Regions from separate parts of the Homo sapiens genome. Here region 1 is linked to region 2. The links are contacts of gene promoters, found by promoter capture Hi-C in blood cells and fetal thymus (Javierre and others, 2016). All regions are on one chromosome and are shown on one strand. Each heading gives the region's core, a stretch centred on a gene start or on the middle of the fragment in contact. The rest is flanking DNA. Distances are from core to core; before and after follow the strand shown. Region 1 overlaps AGBL4 (AGBL carboxypeptidase 4). Region 2 holds the start of BEND5 (BEN domain containing 5).

Evidence for each region. The method cuts DNA at HindIII sites, captures the fragments that hold promoters and counts their contacts. A CHiCAGO score of 5 or more calls a contact.
Region 1: a contact is called between a fragment that was not itself captured here and the fragment with the promoter of BEND5 in region 2, in 1 of 17 cell types (total B cells). The highest score is 6.3, in total B cells.

Annotation. Positions count from the first base shown.
Region 1 is chr1:48,825,331-48,832,115 of GRCh38, forward strand. All of the region lies in intron 6 of AGBL4 (AGBL carboxypeptidase 4), which reads right to left. Among named protein-coding and RNA genes, the nearest start is that of BEND5, 52 kb to the left of the region's middle. The HindIII fragment of the contact is 4,690 bases long and covers 1,184-5,873 here.
Region 2 is chr1:48,772,244-48,778,809 of GRCh38, forward strand. BEND5 (BEN domain containing 5) reads right to left here and starts at 4,648. Exons shown (of 6, transcript NM_024603.4): 1 at 4,363-4,648. The coding sequence starts at 4,588. All of the region lies in intron 6 of AGBL4 (AGBL carboxypeptidase 4), which reads right to left. The HindIII fragment of the contact is 5,361 bases long and covers 1,363-6,566 here.

The sequences.
Region 1 (6,785 bases), core at 2,279-4,778, 52 kb after region 2:
AACTGTCCTGATGGTATCAGAGGTCTTAAGGGTCAATTTAAATATCCCACCTCAGAAAAGCCCTCCTTGATATCCCAGCATAACTAGGACTTTGTGGCACAATATCTTATTGCACCATTTATTTTTTCTTTGCCCTGATTAGAGTTTGTCTGTATATATTTGTGTGATTGTTTAATACTTTCCACCTTCCCCCATGTAAGCAGAGACTATTGATATTTTATGATGTTTTCTATTGTATTCCCAGTGCCCAGAGGAGTGCTTGGCGTATAATAGGTATTTTATTCGCTCATTGACTAAGTGAATAAGTGCATAAATAAAGGAACAAGTAGGAACCAAGGGGAAAGGGCATTTTCCTCAGAAGAAAGAGCATGAGCAAAGGCAAAGAAGTGGTAAAATGCATCATATATGCAAGTACCAAGTGAAAAACTCAGAGCATCTAAGAGATAAAAATGGAAATATCTCTTGGAGGTAGTCTGTATGTGTCTCTCAGTGCCCTGTTAATGACATTGCACTGTCTTCTATGGGCAATGGGGAGACAAGGAAGGTGCTTAAGCAGGGAAGTCCTGTGCTGGAAGATTTAGGGGGGAAGAAATGAAAGGAAGGACTTCTCCACTGCTTTCAGACTCCGTGGCTTTGCCCTCTGCTTGTCTAGGACCTTCATTTTGGATCTCAGAGCCCTTCTACCTTCACCCACAATTCAAAGTGACAGGGACTTTCTCTTATAAACGATCCCTTTATTGCATTTAAGCCCCAAGCTTCAAGGAACAACTTCTTCCCTAAAATCTCAGGTAATGAGGATCTCCCTCCTGTCACTCCTTTGATAACCCTTCCCTCTACAGTCAATCTTTAGCTTGCTTCAGAAGATGAGAGTCCCAAGCCAGCCTCAGCTACTATCACATGCTTCAGTCTCACATTCTGTAAAATGGGGCTGATGATAATTGCATTATACCAATTGATAATTGGTAGGATAATTAAACAAAATAAAAGGTGTGAAGGAGTTTGCTGAATTGGCTGGCACTGTTAAAGCCATGTACCATCACCATGAACTACTGAAACTGGCATTCTGGGCCAGAGAACTGGCACACATTAGCAAAACATGTATGTGAGCTACAATCCCAGTCCACCACCTGGTTCCTTTGCACCCCACACCCAACCAAAAGCAGGTTTGTGGTGGGAGATAATAAGCTTCATTCAAAGAGACTCCAGAGCCTAGGAATCAGATGAACTTCAGGTTAAGAAAATTTGGAAATGGCCTCATGGCCCAAGAAAGAAGATATAAAGCAAGAGGAGGCTGGAAAGTTAGAGGTTACAAACACCTCCAGATAGTGGATTGAATAAAGGTCTAGGCAGGAGAAGAATAAGTTTTATCTTGTTCCCCTTAATTGTTTCCATGATTTTGATTCCATGCCAGCATATTGCCTATTTGAGCCCAACCTTCTGAACCCTAAAAGACTTAACAAACGCTGAGTCTTTCTGGTTAACAGGAAACCTTCAAGGATCTGGCTCCAATGTCCTTCCCACCCTCATCTTCCATTGCATCACTTCACACTCTCCTCTTATCCCCATGCCCCGGAGTCTGCTACATGGGACTATTCACCAGTCCTCAAATAGGCTCTGCACTCTTTCACCACTATGCTTTTCCCACTGCCTGAATATTCTTTCCCCCTCTATCAAGATCAAGATAAGTCAAGATCTCAAACAAGTCAAGATCTTGTTTGTCCTTCAAGATTCTGGACAAATGCTATGTTTTCTTTGAAATTACCCCTGATTTCTTAAATCAGAATTACCATTTTTGTATTGCCTCAGTATGCTATTACTGTACTATACTTTCATTTGGTAGAAAGTCTGCAGTATTTGAATTTTAGTTGGTTGCTTCCATGTCTTTCCTCCATTATACTGTCTCTGCATCTTTACTGACTAGAGCAGGTCTCGATATAGCCAAGGTGCTTAGTAAATTCATGCTGAAGCAAATGAAAGAGGAGTAATAGGGAAAGTAATTCTTATCTCTCACAAAATGGCATGGCAAGCACTTTGTAAATATTAACTCTTATAATCCTGGCCTCTCCCTAGCTTCCCAGGTCATGGGTCTTTACATACAGCCAACATCTGCTTATGCTACAGAAAAGCCCCAGAAGCCTACTGGGGTGAAAGCTCTGGTCTTGTGTCTTCACACTGTTGGCCACCATCCACACTGCTATCGTTTTCTTGGCTCTCAGATTGTCTGGCTCCATGTCCTTGCTCTGGATAACTGCCCCATGCAGTTATCAACTTCAACTCAAGGCAAACATAATTTCTTGAGTAACTACTGTGTGCAGACATGTAGTTCTGCATGCTTCCTTGTTTAGGAAGCCCTTTTAAGCGGGTTGCAAGCAAGAAACAGTCTTAGCTGTACAGAATCATGACAGCTGGGAAATTTTCCACAGGCTGGGGGATGAGACAAACCTCATGTGGTGGATATTCCCTTTTACAAATGGAGTCACAAAAGTGAAAACAGGCTGGGGACTAGCAGGGAGCTGCATTGCTAGTAAGTATTGAAAATGGGGGCCAGGAGCGGCGGCTCATGCCTGTAATCCCAGCACTTTGGGAGGCCGAGGCGGGCAGATCACGAGGTCAGGAGTTTGAGACCAGCCTGCCCAGCATGTGAGACCCCGTCTCTACTAAAAATACACACACACACACACACACACACACACACACACACACACACACACACAAATTAGCCGGGCATGGTGGTATGCACCTGTAGTCCCAGCTACTTGGGAGGCTGAGGCAGAAGAATTGCTTGAACCCAGCAGGTGGAGGTTGCAGTGAGCCAAGATTGCGCCACTGTACTCCAGCCTGGGCAACTCCATCTCAAAAAAAAAAAAAAAGAAAAAAAGAAAATGGGGTTCAAATCTCTCCCACCTCATGCCAAAACATCAGACAGTAGAAGAGAGAAGACGGATTACTCCCCTCCTACCACCATAGAGGTGTCTCTGGCAGCAGCTGAGTCTCCTCCATTGCTCTAGCACTTGCTGGATAGAGCCATGGAGGTTGCCAAGGCTCTATCTTTTGCTAGGTAACCATGGCTCCTAGGATCCAGTGCCACCTGTTCTCCCTTTGACCCTTATGCCCAGGGTGAGAGTATCTTCCTATTGTTGCTAATCTCTGAGTTTCTTTACCATTTCCTGTTTGGCTTCTCAACTGGTGCCAGTTCCCTGCATTGAATCCTCTTTGTTTCAAATATTTGGAGTGATTTTTTTTCTTGGTTATGTACTGACTGATACATTCAGATTTAGATGAAACTAAAAAATATCATGGAAATAATACATGATAACAACTCAGTCAAAACTATTAACTGTGCAACAGTAATGCTTGTTCACAACAGGTTGTGTTAAGGATAATTCTAGGCTGCCAGTTCTGCCAGTTAAAATCCATTACTTAGCTCTAGTTATAACTCAACTCCCTTTTTTTCCTCTCATATTTGAATTGTAAGAAAATGAAGAGTGACATTATCATTATCATAGAAGTAACTTTAAATCTGCTTTACCTCATATAAAAAAGTAGATCATTTGCAAACCTTGGTATTTTCACTATTCTTAGCATTGTGTACGTGTGTGTGTGTATGTGTGTAAGATATCTCACAACCATTGCTCTTTGCTATGATGCCTTCCAAAATAAAGGGTTGTTGAGATAGAATAGATCTTTAGTTTTGGCCATTCTGAGTCTGGAACTAGAGTGTCCAAGGTCTAAGATGAACCCAGTGACAGCTTACACTTCTCTTTTTGGGAGCTTGTTCCTGCCACTCATCATCAGAAACAGTCATGAGCACTTGCCATATGCCAGGCATTGTGGTCTTAGTGTGGACATAAGAGCTTGGTGGACCATCATAAACCATCAGAGCTACTTTATCAGGAAACTGAGTCACAGAGAAATTAAAGAACTATACCAGGATCGCATAGATAGTAAAAGGACAGTGTTGAGATGTGATCCTAGTCAGTCTGGCTCCAGAGTTACAGCCTATGCCGTTGGCCACAATGCTTTAATGCCTCTCTATAGAGCAGTCTTGTCTGCCTGGTGGCCCACTAGGACCCTCATTCAGTGTACCATGACCTCTGTTTCTCCCCTTTCAGTCTCCTTTCCAAAGGCATCATATATCCCCCCATTACTGAGATAGGAATGTGCACATTTTATAATCATGCCATTGGAAAAGTATAAGTTCTGCCCTATGGGGTGAAGGAGGGGATCAAAAAGGTTCTGTCTCATATTATTCCTCCTCACCCTTGAATATAACCAGTCAGAGAGAGGCTGAAACATCTCTCAGGGGAAGAGACTGAAGAACAGAAAATAGGGTAGTTGGAAGAATTTGTTTTTCCAGGAGTTAAACCACTTTGGAATGGAAAGCAGGAAAAAAAAAACCCACAAAAATGATTTTCTGCTTTTTTTTAAACTTAAAATTATGGAAATTGTTTCTGACAGCAAATTGCTCCTAATTAATTTCTTGGCTCTGCTGGGAAAATGTACTGTTCTGTTGATTTCTAAATTCCACCAGCTTAATTATCAAAATACATTTTTTTTCATAAAACTATTAACATGTGGGGTTGCAGTTAGGGGGCTGTCAGCATAGTGCAAAGGAAAAAGAGAGAGTAGGGGAGCAAGGGTTGGATGAGCACCAGGAGGCCTAGAGACTCAACTCAAGGCTTGGTACCCATGTTCCAAAGTCTGGGAGAAGGTAGCAGCCACAGGAAAAGAGGTCTTAATGATGCAGGCAGAATCACAATGCAGGGAGTGCCTGGGAATGAAGTTGGGAGATCTGGATTCAAATTCCATCTATACTACTTACCTTAGACAAACAGTTGAATTTTTGCTGCGCCTCAGTCGTTTCTATAAAATGAGGCTAGAAATAATGTTAATTAACATTTGTAGAACTCTTGCTATATGCCAGGCAGTATCCCAAGTGTTTCTATGTGCATTCACATGCCATTCTTCTCCACAGCCCTGTGAAATAGGCATTGCAACTCTACTTTACAGATGAGAAAACACAAGTTCAGAGGGGTCATACAAATTGCCTGAGGTTATACATGTTAAGAACCAAGTAGCCAGGATCACTGGTAAGAGAAAATGAGTTTCTAGCTTAGTGCCAAACTATTGCCTAACCTGTCTGTCTTCCTCATTAGACTGAGAGCCTCTTGAGGTCAGGGGACCAATTCCCCCGATTTTGTATCCACAATGTAGGTAATGTCTGATAAGTTAATAAATGAATGAACAAATGGTTTAGATGCTCAATTAGATACTGGCAGAATTCAAATCTGGAATCAGTTAATTTGGTGCCATTCAAGAAAAACATTCAATTTCAGTCACTTGGTAGATGTTAATCAAATATCTGCTGTATGCCAGTCACTGAGCTAATCAATAAATAACTTTGGGCACCTAGCAATTTTGCTTTTGGGAATAGATCATAAGAAAATATTTGGATAATTGTATAAAAATGGAAGAATAAAGCTGTTCATCACAACATTATTTCATTTTTTTTAAACGTAAAAGTTCATTCATCTAACAAATATTGCTGAGGGCCTGCTACATACCAAGCATTGTTCTAGACATTCCCATTGAACAAGACAAACAAGGTCCCTGTCCCCATCAACTCACAATCTTGTGGGGAAGATAGAGAAAACCCAAATGGTTATATAATGTCAGGTAGCAATGAGACCTGTGAAGTAAAAGGGAGCATTTTCGGGTAAGGAAATGAACTGTGAAAGGAATTAATTTTTGGATTGGGGCTCAGTAAAAGTCTCTCTGAGGAGAGGCCATTTGAGTCATTCTTAATGACATGAGGGAGTGAACCATATGAACATCTGGGAAGATTAGTGTAGAGGGCAGAAGTATAGTCTATAAGCTTGTTTTCTTTGTGACCTTGGGCAAGTCACCTCAGCTCTCTGGCCCTCTGGGCTGGAAGAACTAAGTCCCTCTCCTCCATCCTTCCAGCTATGATCCAGGCGCTCCTCCCTCCTACTGGGGCCCAGAACAAGGTTCCATATCTGAGAGAGCCTCTTGTTACCAAAATATTTTGCAAAATCCCAAGTGCTACAGAGATGTAAGTCAGATGCAAGTTAATCCTACCTCTCTGCTGAAGCCAAGTTCGACTATTACTTCCTTTCTGAAGCCTTGCCTTACTTTGTCGGGAAGGATGTCTCTGGGCTCCCTTTATACTTTTTATGCACCTCTGCTGTAACATTTAGTTTTTTGCAGCATATGATTTTTTAACTTCTTGAAGCAAGGACAATGTATCCTTTGTTTCTGAATCATAGCCACTAACTCAGTGCTTGGCACATGGTAGTACTTAATATGGGATAGCTGAATTAACTTGAAAGGGCATTTGTGGATTGAGCAAGATTTTGACATGAGTTGGGTGAGGTTTTTAGTTACATTGAAATCTATTCTCTCATACATAATCGGTACACAATAAAAACTCACTGAATGAATAAACACATGTTGTGAAAAGCAGTTTCTTTTTGCTGAGTGAGGATTACCTCATCTCTGCAAGGAAATCCATGTTTTGACAGTAATCAGACCTGGCAATACAGGGATATAGAGTGGGGACAAGTGGAGGGATGTGAGAAAGATTCACCTTCATTACAGATCTACTTTAGCAGGCAATGTGTTAGGTAGAACACTGAATCATTATCCCAGTTGATCCTCAGAACAACCCTGAGGGTACTTTTTAATTATCCCCATTTTATAAGTGAAGAAAAATGAGTCAGAGAGATTAAGGCATTACTTTCATACACAAAGTAGAAGGGGTGCAG
Region 2 (6,566 bases), core at 3,398-5,897:
GAAAAGAGAGTTCTGAGGAGGGAGAGAGTCTCTCTTGGGCGCAGAGGGAGGAATAGGGACTACCACTGAAGCAAGGTCTCCAAATGTACTTTGTCCACTCCTTTATCACAGGTGGAGGGGGGCTGGACCACAAACTTCTGTCACATGTCTACCTTCCCCACCTGTAGGTGAGCTCCTTGCAGGCAGAGGCCCCATATCAGACAATGATTAATCCACCTTGGCTGGCTCAAAGGAGTGCGAGAGAGTGTGTTCACAGAAGAGTAAAAAATACCATAGGTCTCAGGGAAAGGGGAAGAGAGAGTGAGGCTGGAGAAGTAAGGTGGGGCTGGGATAGAGCTGGTCTAAGGAGGGCTATGAATGCCAGGCTAAGAAACTAAAACTTTTTTCAGTAGGCAATAGGGAGCTACAGAAGGTTCTAATGAGAGCAGTCAACTAAGACTGTGTTTTAGAAGATTATTCTAAAAGCAATTGGGAAAATAGATCAGAGACATGGTAATCAATTAGAAGACTGCTTCAATAGTTTAGATAAGAGCTGATGCTGACCTGAATGCAGGCAGTGATGGTGGAGCTGGAAAAGAAAAACTTAAAAGATAAACTGCAAAGCCCACCTTGAATTGGTCCATTCTCTGTGTTTCCCCAGTGCCTGGCTTCTACCTTTATTTAGCACTTACTTTGAGGCCCCCAAATTACACACTCCCTGAGGATGATACCCATTTCTTTTCCATCACTCCCTCCCCCACAGAAATCCTACATAGCAGGACATGAAAAGTCAACGCCTGCCACCCCTGGGTCGTGCTGTCATTTCAATCACAGTACCTGAGATGCATAGGTGCACTGGTATATTCACTTAATACAGCACTGGGCCTGGCATACAGAAAGCAGTAAGGAGACATCTGAAACAAAAAAATTCAGCACACTCAAACAACAGTAACAGAGCACAGGTGCCTAGATAGAACAACTTAAAATTTTAGGGCTCTAGGCACAGAGAAACCAGTTTGAGCCTCCTAAAAAAAAAATAAAATTCAACACTATGAGCCCCAGTAGCAGGCTGGATTGCAGTTAGATGATGGTGAGCTCTCCAAATGAGTAGTTCTCACTTTCACAACCTGCTTGGCAAATAAATGAGAGTAAAGAGAGAACAGAGGTCAAAGGTGAGTCAAACTTTGAGTTATGTGGACCCTCCAAGAGGGACAGCCTTAGTGAAGATTTATTCAAGCAAATGCCAACTGAAGAGATAGGCGGGTGGGGGACAGCTGTGTGTGCTCTGTAAGAGGGAGGATGGTAATGGAGAAAGAGCAGAATGGGCTTGAAAACTCAGAAACTAAAATTATACTCTGGCTTGAAAACTTGCCTTGAGCTGTAAGCTTCATGGACAGTTTTTCCATTTCCTTTCACTCCTTCCAAATCATGCTGTGTAGCTGATGGGAACATCGGCTACTTTACAAAGGAGACTGCCAAGTGGGGGCCTGGCACTGGAAGACCTGTGTTCCAATTCCAGCCTTGCCATTTATTAGCTGTGTGGCTGTAGGCAAGTCTCTGAGCTTCGGTGTCCTCATCTATGAAATGGAAATACTAACCACAGCAATACCTACCAAAATGTCACTTAGAGGACTAACAGAGATAATGTGTAGGCATATAGCAAGACTATCAGGAAAGAAGGAGTTTTGTTTTTCCTTGAACTGGGATTGTAATTTGATAAGTAGTGGTATAAACCACCTACTATGGGCAGTAAAATGTAAAGTCCCACAGCAGTCGGCTTTGACATTTCCTGAGTATAAAAAGAAGTATACTTCAAGACAGCTCTGGGCTGGCTTGGGCCAACACTCAGTATAGCAACATACTTCTCACCAAAAGCCAGAAAGCTGTGCTGAAACTACCTTGGAAACCATTCTATTTGTGTCAGAGAGATTAATTAATCAATTAATAGCTAATCCACAAACATAAAGCCACCTCTGCTTCCCACTTGAGGGGATTCCTCCTCACACCTGGTGCCATAGCACAGTGGTATTTACATATAGGAGATGCCAGATGAGCTCTCTGAAGTCACTGTAAGCAATTCTCAGAGCCACCAAGTTTAAGTCAGGAAGGGGTTTGAAGATACATAGGAGTTATTCCAGGGTAATGAATTCCCGAACTCACCCTGGCCCTTCGATCAGGTCTCTATGCAGGGCAGTGGGTACCCAGGAGATCAAAATTCAAAATGTGGTTTGGCCAACTTCAAGTTGTTGTCTTTTTTTCCCCTTTCTCCTCCCAAGAAAAAAACTGAAGAGAGGTAAGGGGAAGTGTTTTTCAACTAATTCAAACTGGCACACTTCTTTGAACCTACTCTGCCAGTTTCCAAATGATGCTTGGGTTTTTTAAATAACCATACAGATTTATCAACATTCTAACTTGGAGGATGAACAGTCTACAGGTTCAAAATTCATGGTTCTCAAACCAACAGCTACATGTATCTTGCTTCTGAGGACTTGTGTCGATTTCAAAATCAGAGCTGGTGGGAGCTGCCATCTGCCTAAGTGGCCTCTCTGCAGTGCCTGAAGAGTCAAGCACAGTGTATATGTATGTTTGCTGAATGAATGAGTAGATGAATGAAACAATCTCCAAGAGAGGAAAACAGCCATTACACACTAAGAAACTTATCACTGACTCTCTTTAACACATCACTTCTACTCTCCTAGGACCCTTCCAGATCTAGGAGTACAATACAATCGTCAAGAAGCATGCATGCATTTTCTTCTAGCAAAAGGGAAGCTAAGGTTACAACCTAGTTATAACTTCCTCAAGCCTATCGTCTTGGGAAATAAATTCCTAATCCTTTCCCTCAGGTAATTAAAGGCAAGTAAGCAAACAAAATAAAACCTAATCAGCTATGAATGGTTCCCTTTTCTAAAATCTGCTTCCCCTCCCTCAGTTTCTTTGGCCCTAGGTGTCTGGCAGTGGGTGGGCCTACACTTCGGTGTGCCAGGGCTTATCAGGGAGGTGGTATGGATAGAGCCTGTCAAAAAGGGTCCAAGTGCTGCTGGTCAGTTTCCAGTTCTTCCACTCTTCAACTTCTGCAAACCGATTTTTCAGAGGCAACATGAGTTGTGAGACTGAGCTAACTTGCCATGAGACCCTGGGCAAGTCTCTATGGGTTGAGAGAATGTTGGGTTCATCTTTTAGGCTAAATGTGAGGAAGCAAAGGAACTTGAAAAAAATAGAGAAGGTCTCAAAATTACAAAACATCTTCATTCAGTCACTAACCCTTCGTGTTCTTTCTGGTAGAAGGCAGGAACACTATTTGCCCACTTTAAGGTTCATTCTCCTTACCAGCAGGAGCTAAAAAGGCTGCTCCCCAAAACGGAGATGATACTTCCCCCTTCCTTGCTTGTCTAGACTCAAACTTTCTGGAACTAGCTGGGAAAGAGGGCCAGCTGTCTTCTCTTTACAAAGGAAAAGGTGTCTCAGCATGGCAGGAAGAACTGGAGCATAGGAGGATAAAGGGCTGGTTTCTTTCCCTATCACCAACTGAACCTCAGTACCCTCATCTACGAAATGGAGATGAGACTAGCTGCCTTAGCCCATCTCTCAGGGCCCTGGCAGGGCAGGGATGAGAGGTCCAGTGTTATTCTGACCCAGAAACTCTCTCCTGGCCCTCAACTCTCTCATTCAGGGAGCCTTCTGGGAGATTCAGAAAGGGGTGTGGAGGCTGAGGGATGCCTTAGGGCCTCTACCTCCTTACCTCTGCCACCTGGCCAGGGAGGGGCAGGAGAGTGTGGTGTGGAGCCCAGTGCACTGAGGTTCATGGCCTCCTCATCCTGTCCAATGTTGGCCCGGATGGGACAAGGATGTCATAGCTTCCCTCTGTGAGGAGGGACTCCCACCTAGAAGATCTGACAATATCCTTCTTGCTCCTCACTCCAAGGAGGTACCAACAGCCTTTAAAGGGAGAGAGACAGACAGCTTGAGAAACTTAATTCTTGACAGAAAAGAACAGAGGGAAGGAACTGGGAGAGAGGTAAAGAGAAGGTGAGAGAGAAATGACGGTACAAACAGGTAGGGAGAAAAATGGAAAGTGAAGGAACGAAGAAAACACAAAGAATCAGAAAGAGGAGGACAGACACAGATGAAGAGATGAAGACGGACTGACAGCGCGGGAGCTTCGGGGAAGCGGGGAAGACAAAGGGGACCATCCGGTCTTTTTAACTGGCCTGGCCTCTTAGAGACACCCCGTTCCCAAATGAAATGCCCAGAGGACGGGAGAAGGAGGCAGGAAGGAGCAAGCAGTGGCTCCCCCCGGTCCCCTCCGCCCGGGCCCCCGGCCCCTCCCGGGGTCCCAGCCCCCGCCCGGGTCCCACCGTCCCTCCCCGCCCGCTTGCTCACCTGCCAGCGCCAGGATCTGGGCCTTGTGGAGCAACAGCGCGCCCCAGTCGCGGGGGGCGCGCGGGGGGCTCTCGGGCCCGGCGCCCAATTCCTCCGGGCCCCGGTACACGGCGTACACCTTCTGGTTGTCAAAATCCAGCCGCGAGCGGGGGCTGAAGTCGCGCACGCACGACACGGGCAGCGCGTAGCAGACGTTGTCCTCCAGGAACCGCACAAAGGCGTACATGGTGGGCGCCGGGGGCGGGCCCCGGTCGGGCAGCTCAGCCCGCGGGGCGGGCGCGGAGGTGGGGATCCGGCGGGGGGCGCGAGTCTCGCTACGGTGCTGGGGGGGGCGGGGGCGGCTCCCCAGGACCCAGGCTCCCCCCACTGTTATTGTTCCTGAAAGCACCGTTCTGCCAATCGGCTGCTTTCGCCTGGGCGCGGAAAAGGGAGGGAGGGGGGGAAAGGGGGACGAGGGGCGGATGAGGGGGGTTTGGAAGCGCACTGCCACTTGCAAAGTCAGACCCGAGCAATCACAGCCGGAGCGCGATTCGAATGGGGAGGGAAAAGGGTTCAGAGATTCAGTTGCAATAAAAATAATAACAAGAGCATTGCAGGAAAAAAATGCATTGATTAAAAGGTGCGCTGCGTGCAGGATTATATTGCTTCAACAATCGCGCTGCCAAATTGCATTGCAACAAAACTGCATTGCCAAGTAGAGAAGTGTATGAGTGAGTGAATGCGGGATAGGGGTGGGGGCAATCTTGATTGAATCTCAAAGTGTAAACTTGGAAGCCAGCAGAAGTTTGGAGTGTTTTAAATGTAGCCACCCTACCCGCGCCCCCAGCCCCGCACCCTCCCCGCGCCTTTCCCAGCCCTTAGTTTGGCCCCGCCTTTTCTTTGCTTTCTTTCTTTTTGTTTGTTTGTTTGTTTGTTTTGTTCTGCAAAACTGCCAGCTCCCTCTGTGGAAAGGGTCAGTCAGACAGAAAATTTCCCCTAGAGCTGCCAAACCAGTTCTGACCAGAACTGGGGCTTATCTGAGATTTCCAGTTGTGCCAGCTGGCTGGGGAGGTGGAAGGTTTGTCAAGGGCTGCTCTCATCTGAGGGAGCAGTGGCGCCCCTCTCCTCTATAGTCTTTCTCCATTGAGATACCCTCTCCACAGCACGCCCACCACTGAGCAGGGACAACTTGGAATCGCGGAGGGAGTTGAGGAGCGCTCTGGGTAACACAGGCCCAAGGCTAGGGATTTCTGGAGCACTTTGAAGAGTACAGGAATAGTACTCCATGGAATAGCGGTCTTTGCTCTGTCTCTTGCCAAAGAGAGCCTGGAGGGGCTTGGGTCCCCTCCAAGACAAGCCGTGAGGACCAGCCAAAGGGGGCTGATTGGGCTCTGTACTCATAGGAACCCTATCCCACATCAGAGGAGGTCAGTACCTTCACAGGGATGCCTCGTATCAAATATGGCTAGTTATATTTCTGTTGCCTAGCCAGACCTGGCACTTGACAGGGAGTTAATGAATTTTGGGTAAAGAAGAATAAATAAAAACCCACATCCATCCATCCATCCATCCATCCATCCATCCATCCATCCATCCAACCATCCATCCATCTGTTCATTCATTCCTTTATTCAAGCAACCAATATTCACTGAGTTTACACCACCTGCCAGATTCTGGGCCAGGTGCTGGTGATAGAAATGAAAAGATAAACACCTGGATTCTTGGGCCTTGCAAAGTCAGTGTACCAGAACTTGAATCTCAGTTTTGGGTTCCTGTGCCAAAATTAGGTAACTGTATGAATAACATACCTTTCCCATCCTCACAACCTTTACAATCTAGTCTAGGAGTATTAAAGAAGTATAAGCAAGTAATGACAGTATAATGAGAAAAGTATTGTCATAGAGGAATGCTTAATGGAGGTGTTGGACTCAATTAAATGTTATATTTTTAAAAATTCATCTTAATAAACTTTAGCTGTAAGAAAAAAACAGAATAAGTGCACCAAAATGTTAATAGTGATTTTTTTAGCTTCTTAGTAGTGGTAGATGATTTTGTTTTTCCTTGTATTCATTGTGTGTGTGTGTGTGTATGTAACTATTTTCCACAATGTTTTATTACTTTATCATCAGAAAACATCAAACATTATAAAATCAAAGCACTGTGCTCATATTTCACATCAGCTGCACTGACAATGAGGCAGATATTTATTTCACTGTGAAATAGAC